5 separate regions of the Homo sapiens genome follow, and all the other regions are linked to region 4. Evidence: promoter capture Hi-C in 16 types of primary human blood cells and fetal thymus (Javierre and others, 2016). All regions are on one chromosome and are shown on one strand. Each heading gives the region's core, a stretch centred on a gene start or on the middle of the fragment in contact. The rest is flanking DNA. Distances are from core to core; before and after follow the strand shown. Region 1 holds the start of VPS35L (VPS35 endosomal protein sorting factor like). Region 2 holds the start of COQ7 (coenzyme Q7, hydroxylase). Region 3 overlaps SMG1 (SMG1 nonsense mediated mRNA decay associated PI3K related kinase). Region 4 holds the start of PARN (poly(A)-specific ribonuclease). Region 5 holds the start of DEXI (Dexi homolog).

Region 1 (2,700 bases), core at 92-2,591, 4.9 Mb before region 4:
TCTCCTGCCTCACCCTCCCAAGTAGCTGGGATTACAGGTGCGTGCCACCACTAATTTAGCCCAGCTAATTTTTGTATTTTTAGTAGAGATTAGGTTTCGCCATGTTGGCCAGGCTGGTCTCGAACCCCTGACCTCAGGTGATCCGCCAGCCTCGGCCTCCCAAAGTGCTGGGATTACAGGCGTGAGCCACCATACCCAGCCAGCATGACTATTAACTGAAAAAAAAAAAAAAACCTCAGGGTGTGGAAGTGCTCAGAGGCATTCAATGCTGATGTAGCGTGTCAAGGAAGCAGTCTCTTAAGTGTTGGGCAAATGAAAGGAATAAGACAAAATGAAGTGTTTATCAAGCTCAAAAGCAGAAGGTTGTACCTGATTATTTCTAAGGTCTTTCATTTGCTCATTTAATCTAAGCTACTTCACATCATTTGAAGAGAAAGTAAATTATCTCGCTTTCTGAGATGCAGGAGAGATTCCCCGTCCCCAAATCCCACTATCATCAACAACACAACTTCCTCAAGTTCTTCACTCACACACATACCACCTGCTGAACCCTGAAGCTTCAGTCACTCATTCCTAGCTACTCCAACCACAAGGGACCTACGGGCCTGCCAACCAGGCACACGCCACGCCCTCCCTATGGTGGACTCCTATTCATCCTCCAAGACCCAATTTAACTCCTCCTCTCTGAAGCCTTCCCCTAGCCCCCTGGTGGGGATAATCACTCCCTTCTTGGTGCCTCATCCGAATGCCTTCTTTAGACATCCCTCTACTGTGCGTCTGCCCCATTATACTGTCAGCTCCTTGAGGCCAAGGAATAAGTCTGAGGGCTGTGCCTAGGATAGGATGAATGGCGGCCATTTTACAGATGAGAAAAGCAAGTCTCCAGGTGAACAGAGGAGCTGAGGAAACTGACCAACAGCCAGATCTCCCGACTCGTCCAGACTTTAAAAGCTGAGTCCACCATTACCCTCATCCAGCGACCCCAGAACCCGCGCCAACTTCTGGGGACGCGGAAGCCTGGAAACTCAAGTTTTCTTTAGGGAATGAATGGACAGGGGCCCGTGGAAGGCGCAGAGAGGCAGCAGACGGGGAGAGAACCAAGAACCCGCCAGTCTGGCTTCAGATTGCTCCGCTGGACCGCGGTAGCGGCCAGGGATTCTACGGTCAAGACAACTTGGGGGTGGCCGGTCGACCACCAGAACCCGACAGAGAGGAATTCACACTCTCAGACCCAGGCCGACCCCATCACAAGTAAGGACAGCCCCTCTCCAAAGCCCACCCGCCGCTGCTTCCTTACCAAGGAAAGACGGCCATCTTCCCAGTCACATGACCGCTTGTTCTGGGGCCGTCTGCTCGGCTTCCCATCCTTACCCCGCCACTCCCCGCACCCCTCGGCCGCCATGTTTGTGAAGGGCAGCTGGCCGCCCCGCAGCGGCCGCACAGCACCTTCTGCAGACGCCATGCTTGTGAGGGGCAGGCGACGCTCCGCACAGCACAGGCTTCATTTTCAGCTGACGCCATGCTTGTGAGGGGCAGCTCCCCGCTCCGGACAGCCCGGGTTACAACTCCCGCCGGCGCCATGCTTCGGAGGAGCAACGTCGGCCACGGCCAGAGTGCCGTAGTTTCTATGAGTCATGATTGTAAAGGGCAGCTGTCTACAGTGCCGGGTGGTCCCGCCTGCGGGCGTCATGATGGTAAAGGGCATGACTGCTGCTTAGCTCACCTGCGTCCTCTAGGGGCAGAAAGGACTCCAGAAGGCGGCGGAGCGAAGACGCAAACTGAGGTTCAGCCAGTACCTGGTTTTGCGGCTAATACGCTGTTTGGCGTGGGACAGCCATGCCCCCTCTAGGCCGCTGCTTTACCCACTGCTTTGCGGGCGGTTTTAGACACTTGCAGAATGCCCTTCCCACGACTAGCAACCGAGGGCTGCCCTAGATCTAATATGATTGACTACAGCTAATGCACGTGGGGAAATTAGGGTTCGCATTTCGTCCAACTTGGCAAAGCAGTGTTTCTAGGAAGGTGGATATCCATTTCGACCACAGAACGTTTTTAAAAATTATTTTAGGCCGGGAGCGGTGGCTCAGGCCTATGATCCCAGAACTTCGGGAGGCCGAGGTGGGTGGTTCACCTGATGTCAGGAGTTCGGGACCAGCCTGGCCAACATGGTGAAACCCCGTCTCTACTAAAAAATACAAAAACTAGTTGGGTATGGTGGCGGGCGCCTGTAATCCCAGCTACTCGGGAGGCTGAGGCAGGAGAATTGCTCCAACCCGGGAGGATGAGGTTGCAGTGAGCCGAGATTGCGCCATTGCACTCCAGCCTGGGCTACAAGAGCGAAACTCCATCTCAAAAAAAAATTTTTTTTTTAATTATTACTTTTATAACTTACTTAGATATCCATTATGGTCCCTTAGAGAGAAAGCATTCGATGTTTTTATAACTCTTACTTTTCATTCGGGGGTGGTGGTCTGTGGTTGTTCATGAGATGGTGACCTATGACAGGGAAAAGGATCATCTCCAGAACGGGCCCTCCAGTGTTCAGCTCAGTATGAGTAGGAAAGTATATCCACTCGTACCTGCTATTCCCAACACTGGAAGTGAACAAGGGTTAAAGGGTGGCCACGGGAAAGCAAGGAGCTCTTCCCATACAGCCATGCATGTTATCACATGCAACATCTCAATAAGAGGTCAAGGTGA
Region 2 (2,700 bases), core at 142-2,641, 4.4 Mb before region 4:
TTTACAGCTGGTATAGCCTTAACACTTTCCCAACACTTGCTAATTTCCCCTTTGTAACAGAAAGACAGTATTTAATACAATTTCATAACTTTTTAATTTGTTTGTTTTTTTTTAATGATTACTCACCCATTTGTGGCAAGTGGCACTGGCTTCCCATTCACCATAAGGATTTTGTTTCAAGGAAATTAATTTAATTTTTAAATGGGACATAGCTATACAAAAAAACACATCTAGTAATCAAAAGTTCAAGCAGTACTGCCATTAGGCAAAAATCCCGAAAGTGGTACACGGTAATTTAACGTTGAGAAAACGACTTCATGAAATTTCTTTTTTTTTTTTTTTTTTGCGCGGGGGAGACAAAGTCTCGCTCTGACGCCCAGGTTGCAGTGCAGTGGTGCAATCTCGCCTCAAAGCAATCTCTGCCTCCCGGGTTCAAGCGATTCTCCTGTCTCAGCCTCCTGAGTAGCTGGGATTACAGGCACCTGCCATCACGCCTGGCAAATTTTTGTATTTTTAGTAGAGGCGGGGTTTCACCATGTTGGCCAGGCTGGTCTCAAACTCCTGACCTCAGGGGATCCTCCAGCCTCGGCCTCCCAAAGTGCTGAGATTATAGGCCGGAGCCACCGCGCCCGGGCTCATGACAATTTTCTAAGGCAGCACAGATGAAACAAGGAAAGCAGGAACCAGGGTCCAAAACCATGTCTCTCTACTCTAAATTCGATGCTCCTTCCACTACACTGATGGCTTTCACAGTTTACAGTGCATGCAAATCACCTAAAGGTCCTGTTCACAGATCACAGATACCGACCAAGTAGGTCGGGGTGGGGCCCGAGAATCTGTATTTCTAGCGAGCGCCCAGAAGTAGCGGAGGCTGCTGGTCGTCGGGCTACCCTTTGCCTGGCAAGGCCCTGGGCAAAGACTACAAAGAGAGAGACTCCCGGAGACGCTGAATTTTCAGTGTCGCCAACTGTCCTCGACTCGGAACGCTGGCCGCACCTGCCGTGACATCACTGCACAGGGGTGCAATTGCGTCACTCCCCAGGCGTCACTGCCGAAACAACCCCTGTCCTCCTGTCACTCTCGCCGCTAACTACAGACCCCGCCCCGCCCGCCAGCGCCCCGGAGGCCGAAGTCACGCAGTCGCGCTCCGTCGCAGGCCTGTGACGTTACGAACCTCTCCCCCGTGACCTCTTCGACCCAAACCTCAAGCGAAAATTCCCTAGCTCGCTAGACCGGCGCAGGACTGTGACTGCGCGCCTCCTTTTACCTGAGAGGGACCGCCGGGCCCCCGGGCGCAGCCGCCAAAGGCGGGGAGCCGCCGCCGCCCCGGCGCAACTCATTGCCGGAACTAAAAAAAGCAACCACTTCGTTGAACGGAACTGGCCAATAGTGCCCTTGGCTCGGACTGATGACGCACAGCAGACGTAAGGAAGGCTCAGCTCGCCCGCGCACCGGTGGGAACGCCCCCTAGCTCTGCGCTAGGGGTTAGATTGGTTAGATACGACAAATAAAAAGATTTTATTGGGTGGGGTCACTGTCAATCACTCGGAAGACCAAGGCCAAGGCGCCTTGGGTTGCCAGGGAGATGAAAATGCTAAATTGCTGTTTAGAAAGATCAGGACAAGGTTATGATTTCTCACCCAAGTTCCTGGGGAAAAGGATCATGAGGGAATTACTTATTAACAAGGCACGGTATTTCCTGCTTTACCTACGTGGAAGGAGATTTTTTTTTTTATTTGTATCCTACATCTACTTTAAAATAGTAAGCCTGGGCAACATAGCGAGACCCCGCCTCTACAAATAATTTTAAAAATTAGCCGGGTCTGGTGGAGCACACCTGTAGTCCCAGCTACTCGGGAGGCTGAGGTGGGGGGATAGCTTGAGCCCGGTAGCTCGAGGCTGCAGTCAGCCGTGATTCTGCCACTGCACTCTAGCCTGGGCCCTGTCTGAAAAATAAATAAATAAATAAAATTATATGTATATCTAAATTACATGCACCACATGGTTAATGGTGTTATATAGTGTTATCTCTATTGGTGGGCTGAAAGCCAACTTTAAACTTCTTCCCGGTCTTTTCTCTATTTTCAGAAACAGAGAACATGTTTTATCCTTGGTATCCACCTTAATGTACTGTGTGCATGTATGCATGTATATTTGTGCAAATTGGAATTTTTTGAGAAGGGAGGGGAAATTTAGCAACATACTTTAAAAAGATCATATAATACAGCAGTCTTACTTTTAGGAATCTACTCAACGAAATAATTTTTAAATGAGTAATGTACATGAGGGCAAAAATCAAAGATGCGTGTCTGCAAGGATATACAACGTTTAATATTGGCAACATCAGGGGGCTGGAACTGGGAGAAGGGAGCTTTCACTTTCTACTTTACACCCTTGGATTATTTATATACTTTATCCAAGTTTACCATAAAATATTTTAAGATGGAATACAATTGTAAAATTATTGAATTCAAGTTTTTAGTTTTTATATCACTCTAGTGTTCAAATTGACACACCAAAATAATTTAAAATTATGATGAACCCAAATACTACTTAGTGAGGATGTTGTAGCACTCTCATGTAAAACTACTGAGTGTCTGAATCTGGCGCTCAAAAGCCTTAAAATGTTCAAAACCTTTGCTGTAATACCACTTCTAGGTCTCTGTTTCCTTTTTGTTTTGTTTTTTGTTTTTGTTCTTT
Region 3 (2,700 bases), core at 146-2,645, 4.2 Mb before region 4:
ACTTTTATCGCAATGATAGTCAGTTCACATTAGTTTAGCACTATAGATAGTATTCAGAAATTGCTTTCTCTTTGGTAAAGAAGATAAATAGGTGAATTTTATTGCCTGTGTTTTCAGGCTTCAGAGGTACCTGGCACCTTACTCAAGCAAAAACAAAAAACAGCTTTACTTCAAAAGCATGTGCCTCTGGTAAATTATCCATCACTTTTGTTTTAAAGTGGTCCCTCCAAGAATAATGTGGCATACACAGTGGGTTTGGTTGTAAGGCAGATGTAATAGATGACTTCAAAAGCCTGCTCCTTACTGCACTCTGGACAAGGCCCTGGTCTGTATAGTTTGGCTTCCTCTGTTAAGTCATTCTACAAGGTGACTTGCCATTTGAACTTTCGTAAGAGACCTCAGCAGTTAGACTGAGAAAAGTTAGAGTGCTGTAGTTATGAAGTCATACATTTTTGATAAAATACCTGTGGAAAACCAGGGATCCTCTCCTGTTTCTCTCTCTTGCCTCCCCCTTTCCCTCCATTCCTCTGTCGCCTCCCCCTCTCCTCCACTTTCTTTAAGAATCAGGGGGTACAGAATAACCTACAAACAACCTCTTCAAAGTACCCTTGGAAATTGAAGTTCAATCTTAAGTTTTTTGCTGTCTTTAATTTACTAGAATTGCCTAATTTTTAGTTGATTTCTCTACAGAGCTTAGCTTGTGTAGTTATTTCTCTTTTACTGTTGCTTTGGTGTGTCTTGAAGTTTGATTGATTATTTTTGGTCATTGAGTTCTTAGTGTAGTTTGCTAGATGATTATTAAGATTCTTTTGTGTCTGACACTTGTGGTGAGTTGCTTTTGAAATCTGTTGAGATTTCCATGTGAGAACTGATAATCAGGCTCTTGATCTGCTTCCCTAAATTACTTTTTTAGAGCCCAAACCCCAGGTTTAGGGTGAGGGTTTGTAATACAAAGAAACACTTCCATCACTTCTGCCCTTAACCCTTGCCTCTATTACCTAAGCTTAGTAAGTAGTTTTCTTAATATTGTCCAATGTTTGGTGTTATCTGCATTGTTTTTTGTTTTTTTAATTGTGGTTGTTCTGACGTGTGAAATTTAAGGAAAGAGCCATTTTTTAAAAATGCCGAGCAGGGCAATGCAAGTACAGCCAAATATTAGACTTGATGTGCAATCTTCGGTCCTTTTTAATCTGGGGTATTATAGGCAGTACTTTAAATTGCAAAGTCTTCCGGGCCTATTTTCCTCTACATTTTTGTAATTAACTCTGGGGGCTTACTTGTTTTGGCAGTACTGAAATCAAAGGAGCTGGTTCTTCTTTTCTCCCAATTATTTTCATATGAAAGCACCTACAATTAGCCTGTTAGTCCTATTCAGATACATCAAATATCAGTGAATGCTTTACTATTCGCACATTTAAGCATCTTTGTTTTACATAAAATTAGAGTATGAAAACCAGTGTTCAATTTTTTATCTTGTTGAGCTTGTAAAATGCCAGCAATTTAAAACTAGGACTTTTCCCCCCATAAGCCAAGGAGGTAGAATTACTAATACAAGGGTTAAAGAAGGTAGATTTTGTTTTCAATATTTGGGTAATATTAGAAAGATTCTTCCCACAGGGAAGAACTAGCAAGTGTCCCAATTTTTTCCAAACGTTGGGGAGGGGAAAATTCACTGTATCATGAAACCCTAAGGGTTTGTTGCACTTCCTGCTTTTTAGGCCTGGATAACAGTATCACCATCCTTATTTACAGAAGGGTAAAACTGACTCTTAATGAGAAAAGCTTTATAAGTTCAAGGGCTGTAAAATATGAACTACTTAGGGTCGTTTGCCTTCCATGGGAACTTGGCTAGACTTAGAAAAAGCTGTTTGTTGTGCTAATGTAAAAGTGTCATACAATTTAGAAGATTTTTGAAGATGGTAAACTTAGAAGAATTCTATGTTCTGAAATGCACACTTTTAGAATGTTTTTCTTTGAAAACAGGCTAATAGTTTTTTCTTTTTTTGACAAAGTTTCAGCTCCTCTTTAAAGTTATTGTGTCATTTTTCTGGTTTAAATTTCCCTTATATTTCCACCTGTAATGTCAGTGGCAACAACATCATACTTCACTTACTTGTTAATTTACTTTTTACCCTTATTCTAAGAGCAAGTTGAGTTGAACTGAATCTTCCTTGTCTTAGTAACAATGTATAAATAGTGGCTTTTCTGTACAAAAGGTTGTAATGCCTCCTGATGGATATAATTTTGTGATTGTATTTAAAAGTTGAATAAATCACACCAGCTTCCTGAAAATGTTCATAATGCATCTTTTGGAAAACAAATACATGCCTACTTTGTGCATATTTGCATTAACATGGCAAAGATTGTATGAAATACCTGTTTTTCAGAAAATAAAGGTTCAGTCTCAAAAGATACAGCATTTAAGTTCTGAATTTATTGGTCAAAATAGATTTTGGAAAACTTGAAACCTTTTGGAACCTGGGTAGCTTGAAAAAACAAAACGACAGGGTCTCCCTATGTTGCCCAGGCTGATCTCGAACTCCTGGGCTCAAGTTACACTCCCACTTCAGCCTCCCAAAGTGCTGGGATTACAAGCCTGAGCCACTAAGCCGAGCCAAGCCTAGTCTTTTTTTTCTGAATAGCACTAATACCTCAAAAAAGACCCCTAAATTCTCAGAAAAGTAACTATTTTATTCTCAA
Region 4 (2,700 bases), core at 147-2,646:
AGCTGGGACTACAGGGGTGCGCCACCACGCCAGGCTAATTCTTTGTATTTTAGTAGAGATGGGGTTTCACCGTGTTGCCCAGGCTGGTCTCGAGCTCCTGGCCTCAAGCAATCCGCCTGCCTCGGCCTCCCAAAGTGCCAGGATCACAGGCGTGAGCCATCGCATCCGGCACTAACCAACTTTTCATAGTTGGCTTTTGTGAAAGACCAACCTGAATGTATTCATTCAACCCATGCTTATTGAGTGTCTACTACGTGTCAGCCCAGTGCTAGGCATTGGAGAACAGCAACCCCAAACCAACATACAATTCCATTAGGGCCGGGCCTCATATGTTGCACTCGACATAGTATTCCCAGAGGCTAATGCAGTAGCTAAGGGTCTCAGCTTTGCTTTCCGTGATCACCTAAGTAACAACCCCTATTATTCTTTTAATTTAATTTAATTTTTTTTTTGAAAACAAGTCTCGTTCTGTCACCCAGGCTGGAGTGCAGTGGCGTGATCTCGGTTCACAGCAACCTCCGCCTCCCAGGTTCAAGAGATTCTCCTGCCTCAGCTTCCCGAATAGCTGGGATTACAGGCGCGCACCACTGCACCCGGCTAATTTTTTGTATTTTTAATAGAGACAGGGTTTCACCATGTTGGCCAGGCTGCTCTTGAACTTCTGACCTCAGGTAATCCGCCCGCTTCTGCCTCCCAAATCGCTAGGATTACAGGCATGAGTCACCAAGCCCAGCCAATTTTTATATTTTTAGTAGAGACAGGGTTTCACTATGTTGGCCAGGCTGGTCTCGAACTCCTGATCTCGTGATCCGCCCGCCTCGGCCTTCCAAAGTGCTGGGATTACAGGCATAAGCCACCGGGTCCGGCCTAATTTTATTTTTTTAAGAGACAGGTCTCACTATGCTGTCCAGGCTGGTCTCGAACTCTTCAGTTCAACGGATCCTCCCGCCTCGGGTTCCCAAAGTGTTAGGCTTACAGGCGTGAGCCACCGCACCCGGATCCCATTATTCTCTATTACATCGCCCCGCTCTTTTTCTTAATAGCGATTTTCATGTGTTACCAAATGGCAAGTTTCACTCCTGCCTGAATTTCCCCTTACCCCAAGTTTAAGCTACAATGGGGCAGGGAGCACGTCTTCCTGTTCATCACTGTATCTCCACCCCTGTAAGAGTGGCTAGCATATCACAGAAACCCAGTCAGTATTTCCTGGTCGACTGGATGTCGAGACATGCACATTTTTTCTACTGAAGTGAAAGCCCGCACAAATTAGGCCACGCCTTGGGGACTTCGATAGCCACGCCCCTCCCCTGTCCCTATAAGGAGGGAAAGGAGCCCAGCCTTGGCCCCGCCCCCGCCGCCGCGCAGGCGCTGACGCAAGCGCAGCAGGCGCGCGCTGTTTCCGGAAGTCGCGGCCGGCGTCACCGCTGCGGCTGCCTCAGCTACTGCCGCAGTCGCCGCGGAATTCGGCGAGTAGAACCGCTGAGGCGGGCGCGGGCCCGGGTGGGGCCAAGGTTCCGGCCACTCTGCAGAATGGAGATAATCAGGAGCAGTGCGTGTCCGCCGTACACCTCCCCGCCTCCCCACACCCGGCTGCCCCTGGCCTGCTAGGCCGAGACCATGGCCGGCGTGTTTGGCTGGGCCTGGGGCTGAGGCAGCCCCTCAGGGCTTTTCCCTCCTTAAGCCGGTGCGCCTCTTGGGGTCTTTTCCGGCTGCGGACCGTGCACCCTAGGAGCCTTGTACTTACTCCTCCAACCCCGGCACCATCCGGGGCCTTGTCCTTCTCCGGGCCGGGCACCCCCCGGGGCTTGTCCCCCCTGACCCATGCACCCCTCGAGGACTTGATTCCCCTCGCCCCGGTGCACACCTCCGGGACTTTTCCCCTTCCGGCTCTCAGCCTCGGGAGCTCCTCGGCCCTCCTTCCCTCTCCCCTTAGCAGGAATTCAGGCCACTGGTTCTGAGCCTCTTTTCGGTTTCTCCGCAGATTTTAAGAGTAATCTTCACAAAGTGTACCAGGCCATAGAGGAGGCCGACTTCTTCGCCATCGATGGGGAGTTTTCAGGTATCCCTCCCTTGCAAGCTCAGGCTAGCACTTTGCAGTGCATAGCCAAGGCTCCTTCAATCCCCCAGCCCCCAACTTCTTATGCTTGGTGGTGGCCTCTTGCTGTTAGTAGCCTTGGGCGGGTTTCACAGGTCTCAGTGTTACCCTTTAAACGTTTCAAAAGCACGAAAGAAATGAAGATACGCCGTAGGTTTGTGATTGGACTCAGGATCTCAGATAGAGATGATGGTTTTGATGCTGCTTAAAACAGTGCGGCGTGTACATTGCAGAGAGCTTGAGGATTAGGGTCAGACTGTTTTTTTTCTTGATTGTAAAATAGGTATAACATGAAATTTGCCATTTTAAGTGGCTTTACAGTTAAGTGGCATTAAGTACATTCACATTGCTGTGCAAACATCACCATCCATCTCTAGGACTTCTTCATCTTCACAGTCTGAAACTCTTTACACATTAAACTCCCCATTTCTCCTTTCGCCCAGCCTTTAGCAACCGCCATTTGTCTCTGAATTTGACTGCCCTTAACATCTCATATAAGTGGAATCTTACAATATTTGCCCTTTTGTGACCGGCTAGGGTCAGGTTTTTGCAGATAAATGAGATATTTCTTTATGCATTAGTGGACGTGTTCATTGCCTGCCTCA
Region 5 (2,700 bases), core at 77-2,576, 3.7 Mb after region 4:
ACCACGTTAAAATGAAAAAGGAAACACCCAACTTTCTGCATGAGCCAGAATATATCTAACTTCTACCCTGGATTAGAAGTGGTAAGTTCAGTGTGGGCAAGACTTCTCAAGTTTACCATCCATTCATTCATTCAGTCACTTCTACATATCAACCTTATTAAAGGTCCACTGTGTCCCATTAACTCTGCTCAAGAAAGAACTGGGCCAGAGGCCAATGTTCTCCCCAGTGCCTAGCACAAGGTTTGGCACATAGCAGGTGTTTAACAAATATTGGTAGAGTGCATGAATGAGTAAAGGTTTGTTTCACCTTCAGCAGTTGGAGAAATGGATAAGAGTGGAGAGTTAATGGTTTGTCCTGTAATTCATATAGAGTGGGGCAAGACAAAGTCATGGAGCAAAAAAGAACAGGATCTGGCCTCCAAAGAAACACACCCAGGCTCAGAAATGTAGGATCCCTGGGCTCGTATTTTTCATCTGTAAAAAGTACGCACATACATACTACACTGCCTTGTATACCTCCGATTAAGCGATGCATGTAAAATACTCAGCTCAGTGTGGCCTGAGATTTAAAGGTTTCTTGAACTGCTTTGGAAGGCTCTTTGGGCGAGATCATGTTTTCCTGAAAGACATGCAACGGTTACCCAAGAGCAGGGGAACCAGTGGGTGGGAGAGACTCACTTTTCTGTGTACTTCACGGTTGTTTGAATGTTTAGCCATGTGTATTATTGCTTTTAAACATGATTCACAAAGTAAAAAGAAACAAAAAGCATCCTTATGGTTGAAGATCTGAACTACCTCGGAATCTCTTTATTCAGGTGTTCCTTAACTCTAGGATGCAGGTTCCGTAGTGGGCGGACCTTCCAGCAACCAGAGTTTGGAGAAGCGAAGGGGACACTGGTGGATCTCCACCATGAAAATTGGCGCTTTGGGAATGTCCAAAATTTCCAGGGCAACCGTCCGTCGCCCCTCCCCGACCCCGCCTCCTTTTAAAGGAGAAACGGAGTCCCAAAGAGGCATGCAGCAAGGTGCAGCGGTAGCCCGGGTTTCCTTCGGCTTTTGCGGCCTTAGCATTATGTCTAGGTTTGAACTGTGTTCAGTCTCTTTTACCTCCCCCTATTCGATACGCAGAGCGAATTCGATTTGAGATCTGAGGGCAGACCCGAACCAGGAAAGCAACTCAGACGCTAGGGCCCCGAGGGGCGGAGCGAAGCGGTACCCGCCCCCTGGCGGCCGGAGCCAATCAGCGCGGGCGTTGAGCCGGCCAATTAGCGCGTGCAGGGGGCGGCCTGCCAATGAGCTCGGGGCCCCTCGGGAGGCGGAGCTCCGAGCGCCACCGGGAGGGCTACGCGGCGGCCGCAGCCATGGGTGCTGGGCCTGCGGGGGCGCGGGGGGTGCGCGAGGACCTGCGGGGCGGGGCGGGAGAGAAGGCTGCCGGGACCGGCCCTAGACACTGAGCCGCGGTGGGATCCCCACCGGCTCTGCGAGGCCCTGCGAGCGCCAGGGAGGCGCCACGAGGGAGCCGGGCAGCCGCGGGCCACTTCAGGGGGGCCCGCCTCGCCGCCCGGGCGGTCGAGAGATCCTTGGGGGCACATCTCGGGGTGCGGTGACCCGCCCGGCGCATTTCGGGGGTCGGGGCGCAATTGCCAGGGGACATCTGGAGCCCGGCCCTGCTTCTGTCGGGCTCCAGGGTACCCCTGGATGGCTGCGCTGTGCCCTCGCCGGCCGCCCGGGCGCCGCAGCGGCTGAGTTCGCCGGGATCGCCGGGCCGCCGCCCTTGCCACCCGCTGCATGCTCGGCGCCCGGGTCGCGGCCCACCTGGACGCACTGGGCCCCCTGGTCCCCTACGTGCCGCCGCCGCTGCTGCCCTCTATGTTCTACGTGGGCCTGTTCTTCGTCAATGTGCTGATCCTGTACTACGCCTTCCTCATGGAGTACATCGTCCTCAACGTGGGCCTCGTCTTCCTGCCCGAGGACATGGACCAGGCGCTCGTGGACCTCGGCGTGCTCTCCGACCCCGGCTCGGGCCTTTACGATGCTGACTCGGAGCTCGACGTCTTTGATGCGTACTTGGAGTAGGGTCTCGACTGCTGTTCCCCTCTTCCCTACACGATCCGCAACCCATGCCCTGGACCAGCCGCCCAGATCATGCCGCCGCAGCTGGTTGGGGGCACCATCTGGACGGGGATGGTTCCCCAGGAGGAGACCCTCCCCTGCCTCCGAGGCCTGTAAGTGCCCTCTCTGAACAGGATGAGGGCGGGTTGGGGCGCTAGCAAGGGAGAGGGAGGAATTCCCAGGCCGGATACACACCCCTCCCTCAGGCTTCTCCTCCGTTCACCTCCTCCAGGTCTAACTGGATGCCAGGAATGGCCAGACTCCTCTTAAGCCCTTCGTTTGGGCTGGAAAGCTTCCTCCAGCAAAGGGGACAGCTGGTGAAAAGGAAGGAGACCCCGAGACTAAGTTACATTTGGGGTAGCTCTGTGACTTACCCCCAAAGCTTATGGAAAAAGCCTTCGCTCCCAAATCCATTTGAGGCAGAGCTGTCAGCTCCTCCTCCAGTCCTCATCCTGGCTTGATGATGACCTTGGCTTTTGGGGGATTCTCGCTTGTCCTAGAAGGATAAAGATTTAGGGGTGTCAGAAGACACAGGGAGCCAGGCACGAATCACCTTTGTACTGTGGCCCTTGGGGTAGCTGGGTGGGG

The links. Contacts are between HindIII fragments. The CHiCAGO score rates a contact against its expected background, and 5 or more counts as called.
Region 1: the fragment with the promoter of VPS35L here is called in contact with the fragment with the promoter of PARN in region 4 in 2 of 17 cell types (total CD4 T cells and fetal thymus); the score reaches 5.6 in total CD4 T cells.
Region 2: the fragment with the promoter of COQ7 here is called in contact with the fragment with the promoter of PARN in region 4 in 1 of 17 cell types (neutrophils); the score reaches 6.9 in neutrophils.
Region 3: a contact is called between a fragment that was not itself captured here and the fragment with the promoter of PARN in region 4, in 1 of 17 cell types (monocytes). The highest score is 5.6, in monocytes.
Region 5: the fragment with the promoter of DEXI here is called in contact with the fragment with the promoter of PARN in region 4 in 3 of 17 cell types (non-activated CD4 T cells, naive CD4 T cells and naive CD8 T cells); the score reaches 7.2 in non-activated CD4 T cells.

What each region holds. Positions count from the first base shown.
Region 1 is chr16:19,554,344-19,557,043 of GRCh38, reverse strand. VPS35L (VPS35 endosomal protein sorting factor like) reads right to left here and starts at 1,341. Exons shown (of 31, transcript NM_020314.7): 1 at 1,298-1,341. The coding sequence starts at 1,314. RefSeq lists enhancers at 657-886, 745-1,707, 1,267-1,746. The HindIII fragment of the contact is 7,423 bases long and covers 560-2,700 here.
Region 2 is chr16:19,066,305-19,069,004 of GRCh38, reverse strand. COQ7 (coenzyme Q7, hydroxylase) reads right to left here and starts at 1,391. Exons shown (of 6, transcript NM_016138.5): 1 at 1,268-1,391. The coding sequence starts at 1,340. It overlaps COQ7-DT (COQ7 divergent transcript), which reads left to right and starts at 1,314. Exons shown (of 3, transcript NR_119381.1): 1 at 1,314-1,424. RefSeq lists an enhancer at 1,028-1,177 and a silencer at 1,208-1,367. The HindIII fragment of the contact is 11,366 bases long and covers 1-2,700 here.
Region 3 is chr16:18,804,572-18,807,271 of GRCh38, reverse strand. SMG1 (SMG1 nonsense mediated mRNA decay associated PI3K related kinase) reads left to right here. Exons shown (of 63, transcript NM_015092.5): 63 at 1-2,412. Among named protein-coding and RNA genes, the nearest start is that of ARL6IP1, 4.4 kb to the right of the region's middle. The HindIII fragment of the contact is 779 bases long and covers 1,006-1,784 here.
Region 4 is chr16:14,628,956-14,631,655 of GRCh38, reverse strand. PARN (poly(A)-specific ribonuclease) reads left to right here and starts at 1,396. Exons shown (of 24, transcript NM_002582.4): 1 at 1,396-1,549; 2 at 1,982-2,059. The coding sequence starts at 1,531. RefSeq lists enhancers at 860-1,382, 1,383-1,904, 1,905-2,428. The HindIII fragment of the contact is 4,468 bases long and covers 1-2,700 here.
Region 5 is chr16:10,941,094-10,943,793 of GRCh38, reverse strand. It overlaps DEXI (Dexi homolog), which reads left to right and starts at 1,326. Exons shown (of 2, transcript NM_014015.4): 1 at 1,326-2,225. The coding sequence starts at 1,789. The coding sequence ends at 2,076. It also overlaps a transcript of CIITA not described here. RefSeq lists a silencer at 1,187-1,736. The HindIII fragment of the contact is 2,950 bases long and covers 1-2,406 here.